Regions from separate parts of the Homo sapiens genome. Here region 1 is linked to region 2. The links are contacts of gene promoters, found by promoter capture Hi-C in blood cells and fetal thymus (Javierre and others, 2016). All regions are on one chromosome and are shown on one strand. Each heading gives the region's core, a stretch centred on a gene start or on the middle of the fragment in contact. The rest is flanking DNA. Distances are from core to core; before and after follow the strand shown. Region 1 overlaps LINC01117 (long intergenic non-protein coding RNA 1117). Region 2 holds the start of EVX2 (even-skipped homeobox 2).

Region 1 (3,359 bases), core at 474-2,973, 570 kb after region 2:
TGTAATCTAAACATTAAAGTATATTGAAGTCTTTAGTCAAAGACTGGCATTTGGCACTGGGTGTCCAAACATTTCCCGCTGGGCCCTCAACCACTAACAAGCTTTTTGTTTGGATAGAAGAGAAAGGGGAGAGTAAGGAGTTGAGCTGGCTAACTCTTGACATCTGAAATCTTTATCAGTCACAACGACTTTTTTGGTTTGTGTTGATGATTTGTGGTATTGTTGTTTATCTGTATATCATTCACTTGGACTCGCTGTTTAGATGCAAAGATCTCAAGACCATCTGCAGTCTTGATGGGTAGTTGTAGCAGCCCGACCAGACATCTGGCTGTCAGTTATAATTGCATTCCTGCTCCTAAAGTTGTTGTTAGATACTCCTGATTCCCTTTGAATGTATTACCGTGATGCACCACCGTTTCAGGCCATTGATGTGAGAGACCGAGTTAATTCCTGGCTTTCGTCTGGCTAGAACCAAGATTTATAAAATGAACAGAACTATCCATTTTGCTGGAAGTGTGGCTGTTTTTGTCTGCATTAGGTTTAATGATGCATCAGTTTCTTCTGCAGCCTATACAACTGATTCTTTGAACATGGAGAGAAATAGTGCATCCGAAAACTATTTTCATGGTGTTGCCATGTTTACTATTTCCTGTTGTCTTTGCCTGAAAGTGTTTTAACAAAAATTAGGGTAGAGCATACAAACATTTGAGGCAGGGGATGAAAGGAGTTGTTATTATGTTTCCTTTCCAGGTTAATGTGGTTGCCTTTGATTTAAGCACTACATACTTAGGACAGGATATGACACCAATTAAAGACATGAAACTTAATTTTTGGACTAAACAATCACATAATCCTTCTTCTGGTATCTGGTTGAGGTTTACTGACATGGCATTTATTTCTCAGTCACAATCCTAAATTTATTGGGTTGGCTTTACTTAAGGTACATGGGGCAACTAATATTAGTGCATGTAAAAACCTAGCAATGTCCTAAATTGTAAAGGAGCTATTATAAAGAGAACATATTTTTTCCCGATGACTGTCAACATGAGATCAAGAATGCATGCAAACTCACTCCATGAGCCCTGGGCTCACTCATCTTGGTTGGAGGCAGATTTTGATTTAAGATCTAAATTTCAAAAAATGAAAATCAATTTTATCTCATAAAGTACAACAGGGAAAATTTTTACTAATAACCTCTCCTTAGCCTTAAATTTAAATTACATTTTTGTCAAGAGAATTTTAGTATTTATTGAAAATCAAGTTTAGATAATAATCACAAAATAATGCATTAATCGTTTAAAAAGATAAAAAGTAATGTACTGTTTGTGGGTAACACATTTAAATAATAAAATTGAATATTAGTGTTTAATTTTAGTACAAAAAATAATTAAAATGAAGGCATGCAAATATAATGAGCCAGGTTAACCTCCCCATCTTTCCACTTTGACACCTTGTTTAACTCTAGCTAATGATGCTATGAAAAAAAGTATTAGTGGTTTCAGTTCAGCCCCTGGTGGTCTATATCACATATTGCATAACCTGCTGGTGGGTCTTACGGGCTATTTCTCATTTACAGACAGTAGCCTTTTATAATTCTGTCTGGAAGTGGGGGATTGCAGAGGGAGGGTGCCCTGTTTTAACCTATTTATTATGCACTTGAAAATACTGAAAATGTTTATAGAAGTCAAATTAAATTTTGTAAAACACATTAGTGCATTCATATGTTCAAACCTGAGCCTACAATTCTATACCAACTACTCACGTAAAGTCATTATGTGGAAAAGAAAAAAGTCACTTATGGCTTCTACTCCATGTGGAAAATTACCAAAGACTGCAGTTTTTCTAACCACGAATGGTCTCATTTCCCATGTGCAGTTGGTTAGCTCCTCACTGTATCCCCAAGGAGTGCGTGAGTCTGAAGCACTGCAGAAAAATGAGAATTTTCACACTTTAAAAGAGCCAAGGCAGCATTTGTAATGACTAAAAATAAGAGCAGAAGAAGTAAAAGAGGAAAGAAAGATTGGTCCCTGGTTTTCCTTCCCCTCTGTTAAGCGAGACCATGGAGTTTCCAGGTGAAAGTCAATTGTGGGCTTGCTTTTAATTTATACAGGACGTTAGGAAAGAAAAAGAAAGAAAAAGAATACCAACTCCCTTAAATTTCCTAGCTCAAAGTTGCTTGCAGTGAATGCTAAAATGAAAGGAGTTATCAAGGCCAAATTCACTATACAGCTTTTGCGAACTGTTAGAAGCAATTTCCAGGACCTGTGCTTTTACATAGGTTTGCTTTCACTCTCAGCTTGAGTGTTAATTTTTGACTAGTTCTTTCTATCCTTTCGTCAAATGTACACATCCATTTCTTCCGGCATCTCATACACACACTGCACACCACACACACACACGTGCATTATATACATAAGCAAATACCTCTAGCCACTTGGTAACAGTATTTTAGAAAGCAGCTTGATATCTGGATTAGAGAGTTGAATACTTTCAGACAACTCTCGTGGGCACAATGTGTTAACTGTTTTCTGTGCCACCATTTTATTGTATGCGAGCGGATGGCAAAATGGTGGTTCCAGCTTTTTGTTGTATAAGGACTCCTTCGCATTCAGCCTCTGATTGAAGAACCAGTTTGTATACCGATAGAAAAGCCAGGCTTCTCAGTCTGGGAGACTGACTAAATAAACCATATACGCAAATCTTCTTCTACTCACTGCTTTGCAGACGCTTAACCAAAATTTTGCATATATAAGTACAAAGGGAGCAAATCCTGATTAAAATAAAAAATGGACAGAAATGATATTCCATTTAAATATATAATTCAATGGTGTTGGTAAATACATATGTTATTAAAAGACCTTCCAACGTTGCCATAAGTAAACTACCTTGAGAAAAGGTCCAACACAGAGTTAGCGTAGAGAATGTGAATGTTTTACTTGTGCATAAACGATCTTTCCAGATCAAGGTCGAGGTCATTGGCAAGATAGTTTAGTGAGCTCATTCTACAGTTATTTGCACATGCAAATTGGGGTTCCAATTTTAAAAATATTATTGCTTTTTGTTCATGAGAAGAGCTTTGATTAAATTCTTAAAATAAGAATATTAAAATAATTGAACAATATACCTGTGCTAATAATATTCAGTTTTAATTAGCTCCTAAATAGAATCAAAGCTAAAATGGATTTTGACGTACCCTTAACTGGATCTCAAATTAAGGAGAGATGAATTTGACTAAGAGAAGATTTTTACATTGTTGTCTATTACAGCTGAATTACCACTCTCTTTTGTCTGAAGAAAAATATTTTCTTCTCAACGAGGTATATATTTTTAAGACTGAAGACAACTGAAGCTTACAGCAT
Region 2 (3,415 bases), core at 623-3,122:
GCCACCCAGAAAGGGGAAAGGGGAAAAAGAAACAATCAACCCAGATGCCCCCGGGGAGGCCAGAGCAGGCATGCACTGGAATTGATACCTTGATGGTGGTTTCGGGCAGGTTGAGTGCCGCGGCCAGCTCGCACCGGCGGGGCCGCGACACATAGTTCTCCCGGTAGAACTCCTTCTCCAGGCGCGCGATCTGCTCGCGGGTGAACGCCGTACGGTAGCGCCGCACTTGATCCGCGCCAGAGCCGGAGCCACCCAGCGCCGCGCTCCCGCCGCTGCCTCCGCTGCCTCCATGCAGGCTTCCGAGGCCTGAGCCCGACGCCGACGTCGTGGTGCCGGCAGCCGAGCCGCTCTCTGCGTACCCTGGCAAACAAACGACCAACAGCGCATGAGTGGCTGTAGGACCAACAGCCCGGCGCTGGCGCTGCGCGCGGATCGGGGAAGCCCCGTCAGGAAGGAGAGTCGCTGCCGGAATTGATGGGGTCTGTCATGCTTACAAATTGCTGCCGTTAATGGAATCAATAAAGTTTGGGGAGCCCTTCATAAGCAAATAATAGAAACGGAATTAGGAGATTTCTTTTTTAATAATTAGAAATTTTCAACCAAGGAGGAAAAGTGGCCGAGGGAAAATGCCTACCTCTGGGCGCAGTTTGGGAAGCTCTGGGTTTCCCATGGTCTGGAGACCGCAGGGCAGCTTTTTATACGGCCTCTAACCTTTATCTGAGTCTTCGGGGTTTCAAATATTTTAAGAGTTCCAACACAGCAGTAGCTCAAACCCAAGCCAATAGGGGGTGAAATATACTTTTCAACTCTTTCTCCCGCTGACCTAAACAGAGACGCCGGCGAGGCTTCCTCCGACTTACCCAGAAGAATGCCCCCTCCAGCCCTGAGGGCACAGGGGCAGGGGAGTTCAGAGTAGTTGCCCAGGGTACCTTTCCCAAAAGCAACTCGGCTGCTGACTAGGGGTCTACCGGCTCGCTCGGGCTCTTAGACACGAGCGCAGAAACATTTTCTCGGACTCAGGAGCGAGGGCGGGTGGGCCTGGTGTTCCAGGCTCCGCAGGCCTGAGCCTGGCGGGAAAGCTCAAGGAGCAGAACTGGAAGGCACGGTCCCAGACATGCGTCCCGCCCCCGCCCGTGCTAGCTCGGTGTAGCTTGCCTGTGGAGGGTCTGAGAGGGGAAAAGGCACCGGGAAAGGCTGGCGGGGGCCGCGGAGGAGCAAAGAGGATGGGACTGGAGAGCGCGGTGCGGCCGGCGCGGTTACCTTTGCCATTGTTTTCCTTAAGCTGAGCGGCGCCGAGGCCCCCGGGGGAGCGAAGCGCGGAGCAGCCCACCTCCACGTCGCTGCTCATGTCGGCCTCAGCGGCCGCCTCTGAATAATGGCCCGGCTTCTTGCGGCTCTCGGCGGCGGAGGAGATTTCGGAGGAGACGGTGCTTTCGCTGCCCGTGTGCTGCAGGTTGAACAAAGTGTCTATTTCGAATTTGCCCTTGGCGGGGAGTTCTCCCAGAGCGCTGTGCAGGGGGGCAGACGGCAGGCGCGGGCTTAGGCGAGCCGGGTGCTGCGAATTTTCCAGGGCCTCGAGCACAGCATTGCCAGCCGAGTTGGACAAATTGGAGAATCTCTTGCCCGCCGTAGGGCTGTGCAGCCCTCTCTCCATCAGAATCATCTCTTTTCTTATTCTTTCCATCATCTCAGCTTTCTTAAAAATGTCACAGTGGCCCTGCTGTCCCGTCCTAATGATAGGCTGCGCCTAGGGCTAATTCTCATTCAGCCCCAGCGAACGCCTCTAAATATTATTATCGCTTTCGGAGGGAGGCGGAAAAATTGTGGGATGCCAGAGCGAGGGAATGACTGGTCAAAATGACCCATACATCCTTCCGATCCCGAGATGTCATTCATCAAAAAGTAGCGCCCGCTCGTCATTAAGGTACGAATGACGCTGTTCGAATAATCATTTATTGTAACAGGTTTATAAGCAAATAAATACACCCTCCTGTCAGTGGGTAATGAAGGCAGCTTCAGAGCAGACAAATAGATCCAGGTAGGAGGCGAGAAGAGACAAGTGAGGAGGAAGGCTCCGGTCCTTTGCCCGCTCCGAGCCAGTTCTGCTCGCCCGGGGGTTTGGCCTCGGGGGTGAAATTGACAGTCTGATTAATAGAGCGCGCCGCGGCACATTTCCCCCTTCATTTAGGGGCATCATTACGCTCTCAGTTTGCTAGGTTGCCCCTTAGGTCCTAATCATGCAGCGCCTTCTTCATTTTTCCTTGGACACAGATACGTATTAAATAATAGATAATGGTTTGACTTTCCAGAGTAGGTCCTCGGGAAGGTTTGGTTTTTTTTTTTTTTTTTTTTTTTTTTTTTACCATTTACAAGCTGGGGGCATAAGTGGGGGGAGATAAGGGGGAGGATGCAGGAAGAGTTGCGTAAGGAGAAGACCTTGCGCCTCTCCTATCTGGATTACTTATCTTTCGGATTTCGGAACCAAATATGTATTTTATTTAACAAATAGGACGCCGGAGTTCTTTCCCTCCCTATTTCTTCACCTCAGCCTAAATGCTCTCCTCCCACCCCGGGAGAGAGAGAGAGCGGAAGAGAGGGAGAGAGGGAGAGAGGGAGAAAGGGAGAGGGAGACGGAGTGAGAGAAAGAGAGAGAGAGAGAGAGAGAGAAATAGAAATATCCTAGAGTTTTGAAAGCGCTTTCTTGCTACGTGGCCGCGGAGGTGCATTGGGCCCGCGCCTCCAAACGGAAATCATTAGGTCCTCTCTGATTTTCTAACACCGTCTGCAGAGTGAGATCTGAACTCGAAGTCCCCGGTTTTTTACTTTTATAATCCTGCTGATAGAAAGCCTTCTCGCCTACGCATTTTCCTGAGGGGAAACGAACTAGGCTGGACGATTTGATAGCAGAATTCGACAGCTAACTTTAAACACAGTGGAGATTTACAGCGCCATACGGGCGCTCCGAATCCACGCTCACGTTGCCAGATTTTCCCCTCCCTCCTCAAATAGAATTATTTGCGGCAAAGGCGCTGGATTTCGAGGTCAAAAGAGGAAAGAGGAGACAGCCTTCTTCCCCTACCTCCCCGCTGCCCTCCCTTCCCCTTTGCTTTTCTTCCTTCTCTCTTTCCTCCCCTCATCAACCCCAGCCCCTTACCTGCGGCCACAGGTATTCCCAGCGTTGGGTCCGGGCGCAGAGAGTCGCCGAACAGCCTTACAGCAGCTCTCTGCGGCCTGGGCTTGGAGGCTGAGCCTCTTGGCGACAACTTTGATAGTCATAATGACGCCGGTGGCAACCATTTTAACGAAGATCAATCTTCACTCCAGGCCGCTCCTCATCTCCCGCGGTTGCGCCCACCCTTCCCTGACCCTCCAAGCACTGTGCCCACCCGCCAACGGCCCAGCCGGAGAGAGATTC

What was found. The method cuts DNA at HindIII sites, captures the fragments that hold promoters and counts their contacts. A CHiCAGO score of 5 or more calls a contact.
Region 1: a fragment that was not itself captured here is called in contact with the fragment with the promoter of EVX2 in region 2 in 3 of 17 cell types (fetal thymus, total B cells and naive B cells); the score reaches 7.4 in fetal thymus.

What each region holds. Positions count from the first base shown.
Region 1 is chr2:176,648,790-176,652,148 of GRCh38, forward strand. All of the region lies in intron 2 of LINC01117 (long intergenic non-protein coding RNA 1117), which reads left to right. Among named protein-coding and RNA genes, the nearest start is that of LINC01117, 13 kb to the left of the region's middle. The HindIII fragment of the contact is 3,248 bases long and covers 100-3,347 here.
Region 2 is chr2:176,082,090-176,085,504 of GRCh38, forward strand. It overlaps EVX2 (even-skipped homeobox 2), which reads right to left and starts at 1,873. Exons shown (of 3, transcript NM_001080458.2): 1 at 1,261-1,873; 2 at 89-360. The coding sequence starts at 1,687. RefSeq lists an enhancer at 632-1,247. The HindIII fragment of the contact is 15,744 bases long and covers 1-3,415 here.